Linked DNA regions of Homo sapiens: region 2 is linked to region 1. Evidence: promoter capture Hi-C in 16 types of primary human blood cells and fetal thymus (Javierre and others, 2016). All regions are on one chromosome and are shown on one strand. The core of a region is centred on a gene start or on the middle of the fragment in contact, and the rest is flanking DNA. Distances in the headings are between cores, read along the strand shown. Region 1 holds the start of MYO18B (myosin XVIIIB). Region 2 has its middle 35 kb from the start of MIR6817.

Region 1 (5,002 bases), core at 1,586-4,085:
GGTGAAACCCTGTCTCTACTAAAAATACAAAAATTAGCCAGGCATGGTGGCAGGTGCCTGTAATCCCAGCTACTGAGGAGGCTGAGGCAGGAGAATCGCTTGAACCTGGGAGGCAGAGGTTGCAGTGAGCAGAGATTGTGCCATTGCACTCCAGCCTGGAGGACTAGAGCAAGACTTCATCTCAAAAAAAAAAATTAGGGATGATCAAGAGATAGAAGTCAATTGTCCATATAAAATGTCACAATCCCTTGGCTGTTTTGTGGATCCAGAACTCCTTAGCCTAAGGAGAGGCCAAATCTCCAGGGGAAAGGAACAACAACCCCACAGCAGGTATGTAAAGTGATGATTCCCTTGGTCTTTGCCCAGACAAACCCACAGCCACTTGAACTGTCCTGACACCCAACAGAATAGCACCACGATCCACTCTTTCCATGACACCACGCCAACTGGATCAGATGAGCCCAAAGCAGCCGGTTCTCTGGATGCCTTGATAAGAAAGCCTCCACCTTCTCGTCTTTTCCCCCAGCCTGGGGAATGAAGCCTGGAGACTGGACAGTAAATGCTCAGCTGGGTGACAAAATCTTGCTTATAAGGGCTGCCCTAAATCACCGTGTGCTCAAGGTAATACTTGGTCATCTTGTGTAGCAAAAATCCACCCACCACAGGTACCAACAAGGTGAATGGAGCAAACACATGCCATGTTGACTCCTTGGGGAACGGAGGTCCCTTCAAGTCAACGGAACCATCACTGCAGGTCATGGCCTATAGAGAGTCCCAGCCCTGGGCCCAGAGAATCATTTCTGCATGTCAACTCTACCACTTCAGACCAACAGCGTCGGAAAGACAGCAAGGACAGAAAAGCCCAGGAGCCAATGGTTCAGGACTTGTGATGCAAGGGGCGGGAGAAGGGAGGTTCTTGTTTCAATGTCAAATGATCTAGCACAACCTGGAGAAAACAGCTCACCGGGACCTGTCTCCAAACTCTTCCCCTGGTGTGGCCTAAATGTCCCATGCCACTCTCCACTGGGGGCCGCAGGGACCCCTCCTCAACCTCATGTATATTATGTATATTGTATTTTCTTTTTCTTTCTTTTCTTTTCTTTTTTTTTTCAAAATGTAGTTTTGCTCTTGTCGCCCAGGCTGGAGTGCAATGGCGCCATCTCTGCTCACTGCAACCTCTGACTCCTGGGTTCCAGCTATTCTCCTGCCTCAGCCTCCCGAGTTGCTGGGATTACAGGTGCCCGCCACCACGCCCAGCTAATTTTCGTATTTTTAGTAGAGGTGGGGTTTCACCATGTTGGCTAGGCTGGTCTCAAACTCCTGACCTCAAATGATCCACCCGCCTTAGCCTCCCAAAGTGCTGGGATTACAGGTGTGAGCCACCATACCCGGCCTAGACTGCCATTTTCTAAGCAGCCTTCCCTTAGTGTTTCAATGAACTTCTGATTGAATGCTAATTTTCAAGACCTCGGCAGAAGTGAGTACTTTGGGAAAATATTGCTCGATGAGCTCTGGGGAAAGAGGAGCAGCACCACATAGCAATTATTGAAACAATTCTCACAGGAGCAGTATCATGCTGGGCTGATTGCGGTCTTTGGAACCAGAAAGACTTGGATTTGAGTCATGACTCTACCCTTTGCTAGCTGCATGGACCTGCATGGTTTATCCAATTTATTGAAGTCTGTACTTTGCTCCTTTTAGGCAGTGGACAAAGCACTTTTTTTGTTGTTGTTTTTTTGAGATAGAGTCTCTTATCGCCTAGGCTAGAGTGCAGTGGCGTGACCTTAGCTCATTGCAACCTCCGCCTCCTGGGTTCAAGCAATTCTCCTGCCTCAGCCTCCCAAGTAGCTGGGATCACAGACAACCACTACCCCACCCAGCTGATTTTTTTTTTTTTTTTTGAGATGGAGTCTCTCTCTGTCACCCAGGCTGGAGTGCAGTGGCGCGATCTCGGCTTACTGCAAGCTCCGCCTGTAGCTGGGACTACAGGCGCCCACCACCACGCCCGGCTAATTTTGTTTTTGTATTTTTAGTAGAGACGGGGTTTCACTGTGTTAGCCAGGATGGTCTCAATCTCCTGACCTCGTGATATGCCCACCTCGGCTTCCCAAAGTGCCGGGATTACAGACGTGAGCCACCGTGCCAGGCCCAAAGCACTTTTTTATAGCCCCTAGTTTGCTGTTGTGTCTGTTTCCTCTACGGCCCGCACAGCCTGGGTTTGAATTCTGGCTCTCCATGGCCTTGGGCAAGTTGGTTAACTTTTTGTGTCTCAATTTCCCCACTTGTAAAGTGGGGCTGGGGAAAAACCCTACCTCATAGGGAACATTAAGTGAGTTCATGAAAGCCCTCGGTGTGTGGCATGCGATAACCACTACCTAAGCATAAGGTATGTTTACATGCACTGGTTGTTTACCACGACGCACCAGCATTCATTCAAGTTATTTTCTTCCAGAGTCTGCCTGGAATGTAGAACCGGCCAGCTCTCCTCCTCAAACAGTTCCTGCAACCTCTGGTTATCTGTGTGGGCAGAGGCGGGAGTGTGGGTGTGTGGCCCTGCCCTGGGACAGGGATGACGAGAGAGCATGTGCTTGTGTCCAGAGCTGTCCCCTTCCCTGCTCAGGGGCCACCAAATATGTCCATGGTCTCTGCTGCCTGGTCAACGGCCACCCCGGGCTGCCGTCTCCTGGCCAGACCTGGAGCTCACAAGCTAATTTTAGAAATGACTGGTCGACTCAGCTGCTGCTATCACATTGGCCCAGAAGGAGGGTGGGGGGAGGACGGGTCGGGGAGGGGCAGTAAGGGGAAGGGATGTGTGTCGGTGTGTGTGGAGAGGGTGCTCCTTCGCTCCTGCTTTCCCGGCTCGGTGGGGTCCCTTCGCGGCCACCCGGGGAGACGTCTTAGACAGTCGTGGTTCCTGTGATCTGTGTCCTCTTTGCAGAAGGTACTATTGGGCTGGGTTTTAGACGGGCACCTTGCGAGCGGATCGGCGAGTTTTAATTTTCCGGAATGCGCTGCTGGGGGCTGCGGTGGCAGGCCTCCGGTCTTTTGGTCTATTTTAGGCCTTTCTGGTGTTGAGAGCTTCCGAGGCCTGATTCCTTTGCCTGTTGCCCGTGCTGCTCACTTTGAAAACAAGAGTGTTTCGGTGGAAGGATTTGAGAACAAAATGCTGGGGCAAATGGACATTCGTAAGAATCACTCTCCTCAGGCCCCAGCTGTTCGCTAATAATTTTTAAAAATGTGTTTAGAATCATGAGTTAATCTCCACTGTGAATCTTTGCCCGCAGACGTCAGGGTTTATATTTTTCCTCAACTACCAGTAATTTCTGCTTCACTGGTGTTCAGTTATGGTCGGGGAAGAGCCAGGCTTCCCCTTTCGTGTTAACAACGCTGTTGAGTCGAAATGTTAATTTTAATGTTCTTTTTTAAACTGCAAATTAAGCATGTATGAGTGTTGGGGGAAGGGCAATGGAAGTTCATGGCTGAAGGTTTCAATTTCATGCCACCTTCCTTGAGCTCTGTCTGAGGGAAGGTGTCTTATCTGGCACCCCGGATAGCAGGCATTTCTCTGAATGAAGAAGATTCACAGGTCCCAGTGGCCCCATAGTGGGGCAGAAGGGGGCTATGCTTTGACATGGAGCTCTCTCCCAGGAGAGGAGAAGACCTCACCAGCTACAGGCCTCTGGGCTGCTGCCTTCCTGCAGCTTTTCCATGGAGGAGGCCAGGAGTGGGGAGGCCCGGAATGGGGAGCCCAGTCGGCTCCCAGTCGGCTCCAAGCTGTCCAGTCTGGCCTCAACCCGCAAGTGTGGGGATCTGGGCTTCTATCCTGTAGGGCCTGGAATACGACGAGGCTGTTACTTTCACTTTGTGGCTGTCCAAAAAGATGCTGCCTCATTCAGTGCACCAGCTCATGGAGGCTGAGTGTCCCACTAGGGCTTCTAGACTCCAACAAGGATAATGGTGGCCTTGGGTGCTGTATCCATTGCTGACCTAAGTTGTATTCTCCTATGCCTGGGTACCATGTCCAGTGTGTACCTTGGGAGCAGAAAAGAGAGGGGTCTATATACTCTTAGGCTATGGATGAGTTCTAGAAAATAATAGTGGAGAGGAGAGAGAGAAAAGAAGGAAGAGGAGGAGGAGAAGGAGAAGAAGAGAAGGAGGAGGAGGAAAAAAGCAGGAGGAGAAAGAGAAGAAGGAGGAGAAGAATAATAGCAAAGGAAAAGGCCAAAAGAAAAGGCCAAGTGGGTGGAGGAGGGAGGAGAAGGAGGAAGAGGAGGAGGAGAGGGAGTCTCCTGGTCTCCTGGCTTTTGAAGGGCTGCATGTTACCAATCAACAAATATTTGATGTCACCTGCCTCCAGGCCTGGTCACCTTGAATATCCTGGTGTGGGCTCTGTAACCTTGGATGAGTACTCTCCCCAGTCGGAACTTAGTTTCTCCTTCTAAAACCTGAGGGGGTTGGGCTAGACCACCTCTGGGATCTTTCCTAGGATTCAGCATCCAGGAAGGTTTTTCTTGAAGTGACGGTCGTTGACGACCTACCCATCAGACTCATGTGGGGCAGGAGGCGGGGGGCTGTTTTAAAATGCAGATTCCTGGGTTCATCCTAGACCTTTTGAACAGTCTTGGGGGAAGGGGCCCAGAAATCCACAGATTTTAAACCTCACAGGTGGTTCTGGTGCCCACCCAAATTGGAGAAGAGCTTTTCCTTTCACTTGAGCTAACAAAACCACAGAAGGCTGTTGCTCAGCACCTGCCCTGTCAAAACTCATGGAATTTCCATGTTTCACAAACATGGAAAACGTGCACAGCACTTTATTAGGGTCTAACTATCGCAAAGATTTTATTGGGCAGGTGTTCCTCCAGGGGTAAGATCAAGACTTTCTATGGCATTTTGAGGTGGGAATGGAGGGCCCCCAAACTGAGCAGAACCACTTCCAGCTGCCAAAAGATAGGGACCTGGGGCTGTGAGCCTACAAGGCTATGGGGAGATGGCCCTTCACTGG
Region 2 (5,002 bases), core at 1,463-3,962, 250 kb before region 1:
TCGGTCATATCTGCGTGGGCAGCAGTGGAGGTGGGTGTTAGTTTGTTTGGTTTAACAGCTATTTGACTCAGACCTCCTGCCAGCAGGAGTGGGTGACCTTTCCTTGGAGCTCTGGGCACCAAGCCAAGCCTAGGAGGGCAGTTCCCTTTGCTCATGAGCTCTGTTAATGTAGCTGTGTCCTGCTGAGATTCAATTCCCACGGACTTCACTGTTGCCACCAAATGTGTGCATATGAGGGCTCTGCAGAAGTAAGAGTCACAGGGGCCTGGAATGAGAGCAGAGGAGGAGGTGCAGAAATTGAAATGCCAGTCATACACACTCTGTTACATTAACTCTTTGTGGTAGACTAACATAATAATAACCCCACAAAGAGTCTGTCTCTCTGAGTCCACACTCTTTTGCAATGTACTTTGTTGCTTTTCCCCTCTTGAATTTATGACTTGCTTTGGCCAACAGAATGTGGCATGAGTGATGCTGGGTATTTTCCAAGGCTTGGTCTTAAAGGCTGCTGCAGTTTCTTTTGCTGTTTTGCAACTTTGGTTCCACCAGGCTGTGTAGAAGCCCAGTTTCACCTGTGTGGATGAGAGGCCACATGAAGAAAACTGGAGATGGCCCAGTAGACAGCCAGCACCAAATGCCAGACACTGGCAGTTGGCCTCTTCAGCTCAACCAATCCTTTAACCAAATGCAGCCTTGTGAATGAACTCAGGCAAAACTGGGGGAGGAACTGCAAAAGCAACCCAAAGCATCAGGAGCCACAAGGCAATGTTGTCTTAAGGCACATCGTGGGGTGGTTTGCAACCCAGCAAAGGCTAATGAAATGCTTCTGTAACAAACATCCCCAAAACTCGTGGCTCAAATGATAAAAATTTTCTTCTTGTTTCCATCCCAGTCTGGTGTGGATGAAGACTTCTGCTCCATGTAGTCATTGAGGAGCCCACATTTCTTCTATACTCTAGCTTTTATCATATTACAAAGTTCCTCTACTGAATCCTTAGGCAATGAGGAAAGAAAGTGCATGGAAGATGTCCCAGGAGGCTCAGGGGTGAGGCATGGAAGTGACCCATGTCACTCCTGCCTCCGTTCGGCTGGTGGAACTCAGCCTTGTGGCTAGGTGGATAGGAAGAAAAGGGAAATGGCATAGGAAACAACTAGCCAGTTCCAGCCTCTCTTGCCAGACTCTGGGCTCAGTGCTTCGTCCTCAGCATCTCATTAAAGACTCATAGTCACCCTTTGGGATAGGGACTATTCAACAGTCACCCACAGATTTGCACAGCTGTCCAACTTGAGCCAGTGATGAATAAAGACAGATATGGTTGCTGTTCTTTCATGGAGCTTACATCCTAGGGGAGAAGTCAATCCCTAAATAAGGAAACTAATAGATAAATAATTTCAGAGAGTGATACATTCTATGCAACACATATCAGAGTGGTGGTTTAGAGTGAGGGGTGCTATTTTGGATAGAGTGGGCAGGGCAGCTTTCTGCGAGGAGGTGACTAAATTAAGATCTTGCTGTGAAGATGTTTAGTTGCCTGCTACCCTCCACTTCTCCCTGAATAAAACAGCCATGCTCTGCTGCTGAGTTCAGCAATATCCCTGGCTATATAAGCATGTTTCCTAGCTTCCTTGCAGGAGGGTTGGATAGGAGTAAATAAGTTGTTAGATAGACATTGCTTATAAGTTCCTTAAAAGAGGAAAACTCAACTCAAGAGGTGAGAATAATTTTGCCATTCCTTCCTTTTTCCTGTCTATAATGCAGATGTGATGGCTGGTGCTGCAGCAGCCATCAGGCACCATAAGGTGAGATGCTAAGAATGGTAGAGCAGAAAGACACAAGGAGCCTTCGTCTTGTGTGGAAACTCTATACTGCCCTGGATGTCATCCTTCTACACTTCTTTTGTATGAGGGAAATAACCATGGTATATCTTGTTTATACCATTATTATTTGGAACTGCTGTTGCTGAAAGCAATTCCTACATAATACAGGCTGTGTAATGGGATTTTATGATGAGCAAATTGAGACTTAGAACAGTTAGCACTTCTTGCAAAGTAACATAGTGGAATTGAGGAGTTAGGATTTGAACTCAGGTCTGTGGGGCCCTAAGTTCAGAGTTTTGGTTGTAGCCCAGCCTCCCTTGGCTGGGGGTGGGGGTGGACAGAAGGAGTTAGCCAACAGTATCAACTATGGAAAGGAGTGTACTGACTGGATTAAGGATTGCTTCAAAGAGCCCCCAAATTCACTTTTACGAGGTAAATTTTTCCTTCTTGACTGTATGATCCTGATCTAGGTTCTGGGATCCTAACTTCTCTCAGCCCCGTCTTCGTCCACTGCCAGGTGGGTGCATCTATCCTCTTATTGCTGTCTCAACATACTCTTGCAATACCCTCACTGTAGCAGCACTCAGTGAACCACCCTCCCAGGACCCTCACACAGACGTCTAAGCAAGTATCAGCCCAGCCCTTTGCTCCTAGTGCCAGGTTGATCCCAGGGAAGCCAAGTTAAAAAACAAATGCAAGGACATTTTGAGGGGAAAAGTCTCACTGATAGCCAAGGTAATACAGAAGCCAAGAGAAGATATTTGCTGCCAGGCAACCAGGCTGAGTTTTATGGGAGTTGGGGGTAGTGAAATGCATGCATGTCAGTCATTCGAATGCCTCTACCTCCAAAGCATGCTGCCTCCTGGAACCACTCCATTCGACTTTCCCACCCACGATTCCTCAGGCTTCCTGCAAATTGTGGGGGCCTGCAGAAGTCACCCCAAGTTGCTCAATCCAAGAAATTTTCCTCTGAGCTGACAATAAACCCTTAGACTAAATTGACTCAGATTGCACACTCAGGAAGAGACTAGACACACCTCGGCAGAAAATTGGATTTGTGCAGCTTGAAAAAGATGCTCTTGTAATTCCTCTAAAGCCTGCGAGCCACCTAAAGGGCCCTAGACATGTATAGTAGCCCATCTCCAGACCTTTGTCTGTACTGTTCCCTCAGCCAAGAAGAATTTTGCCTAGCTTTTTACATGACTGATTCTTTCTTACCCTTGAGATCTCAGGTTAAATGTCACCCCCTCAAGAAATACAAACATGTCCACACAAAAGCCTGTACAGAAGTGTTCATAGCAGCATTATTCATAATAATCCCAAAGTGGAAACAACCTAGAGTCCATCAACTGATTGATGATTCCACAAAACATGCTATATACGTGCTATATCCTTGCAACACAGTATTATTTGGCCATCAAAAAGGATTGACATCCTTTTCTTTCTTTCTGTCTTTCTTTCTGTCTGTCTGTCTTTCTTTCTTTCTTTCTTTCTTTCTTTCTTTCTTTCTTTTTCTTTCTTTGTCTTTCTTTCTCTTTCTTTCTTTTCTTTTACTTTCTTTCTTTTCTTTCTTTCTTTCTTTCCTTTTCTTTTCTTTTCTTTTCTTTTCTTCTTTCTTTGTCTCTTTCTCTCTTTCTCTCTTTCTGAGACAGAGTCTTGCTCTGTTGCCCAGGCTGGAGTGCAGTGGCATGACCATGGCTCAATGTAGCCTTAACCTCCCAGGCTCAAGCAATCCTAGCTCAGCCTCCCAAGTAGCTGGGACCACAGGTGTGTGCCACCACACCCTGCTACTCTTTTTTTTTTTCAGAGAGGGGGTCTTGCTCTGCTGTCCAGGCTAGTCTTTAACTCTTGGGCTCAAACTCCCAACTCTGTCTCCCAAAGTCCTAGGATTGTAAGTGTGAGCCATCGTACCTGGCAGGACTGATGTTCTGATACATGCTACAATATGAATAAACCTTGAAAGTATTATGTTAAGTGAAAGAAGTCAGGCTCAGAAGGCCACATATGGTATGATTCCATTCATAATAAATGTCCAGAATAGGAAAATCCATAGAGACAGAGAGTAGATTAGTGGTTGTCAGGGCCTTTGGGGGAAGGAGAGAATGGGGAGTGACTGCTAATAGGTGTAAGCCTTTTTTGGGGGGTGATGAAATGTTCTAAAATTAGATTGTAGTGATGATTGCACAACCTTGCAAAAATATTAAAAACCACTGAATTTTGCACTTTAAAAGGGTAACTATTACAGCATATGAATTATAACTCAATAAATCTGTTTAACAAAATATCACTCCCTCAAAGAGACCTTCTGTGAGTCCTCTCTCTGAAGGTGGTGTTCTTTTAAAAAGTTTTTTTGAGACAGGGTCTTGCTCTGTCACCCAGGTTATAGTGCAGTGGTGCAATCTCAGCTCACTGCAGCCTCAACCTACTGGGCTCAAGCGATCCTCCTTCCTCAGGCCTGAGTAGCTGGGAGTACAGGTGCACACCACCATGCTTGGCTAATTTTTTAAATTTAATTTTATTTCTTTAGAGATAGAGTCTCACTGTGTTGCCCAGGCTAGTCTCAAACTCCTGTGTTCAAGTGAGTCAGGAGTCTCCTGCCTTGGTCTCCCAAAGCGCTGCGTGAACCACCATGCCTGGCCTCCTGATGTTCTTTAATTCAGCCCCTGCTTTATTCAGTTCCTCATCCTGTTGGCCACCAGCTGTGATAATTTGGTACATTTATGTGTATGTTGTGTGTGTGCCCATGCTCGTGTGTGGTCCTCATTTCTAGCAGCAAGCTACATAAGAGCAGGGGGCTACATCTGCCTCACCAGAACTGTTTCCCCAGCACTCAGTACAGGGATGGTTGTCAATTGAATATCCGTTGGTTGATTGAAGGAGTCCTGGCACACTGTAGCTGGAAGGGAACTGAGTGCTCATCCAGTCCTTCCTGTTTGCAGATGCAGAGGCCAACTGCTCAGAGGCGGAGGGGCCCACTCAAGGACTCAGCTTTCAATGGCTGTGTTCTTTAATTTTATTCTCCCTCAGTAGTTTTCCAAAGATTTGGGAGTCCAATAAACCATTGCCCAAGTGGAACAGACAGACTGTTCTGGACTTAGCAGTTAAGTGACAAAGATAAATGAGGTTGGGGGGGGTCCCCGTTGAGTTAATAGATGCACGCTCCCTTCTATAGCAATAGACGGTG

What was found. Contacts are between HindIII fragments. The CHiCAGO score rates a contact against its expected background, and 5 or more counts as called.
Region 2: a contact is called between a fragment that was not itself captured here and the fragment with the promoter of MYO18B in region 1, in 1 of 17 cell types (total B cells). The highest score is 5.6, in total B cells.

Annotation. Positions count from the first base shown.
Region 1 is chr22:25,739,353-25,744,354 of GRCh38, forward strand. It overlaps MYO18B (myosin XVIIIB), which reads left to right and starts at 2,836. Exons shown (of 44, transcript NM_032608.7): 1 at 2,836-2,941. The HindIII fragment of the contact is 14,245 bases long and covers 1-5,002 here.
Region 2 is chr22:25,488,371-25,493,372 of GRCh38, forward strand. No RefSeq gene overlaps it. Among named protein-coding and RNA genes, the nearest start is that of MIR6817, 35 kb to the left of the region's middle. The HindIII fragment of the contact is 5,884 bases long and covers 1-5,002 here.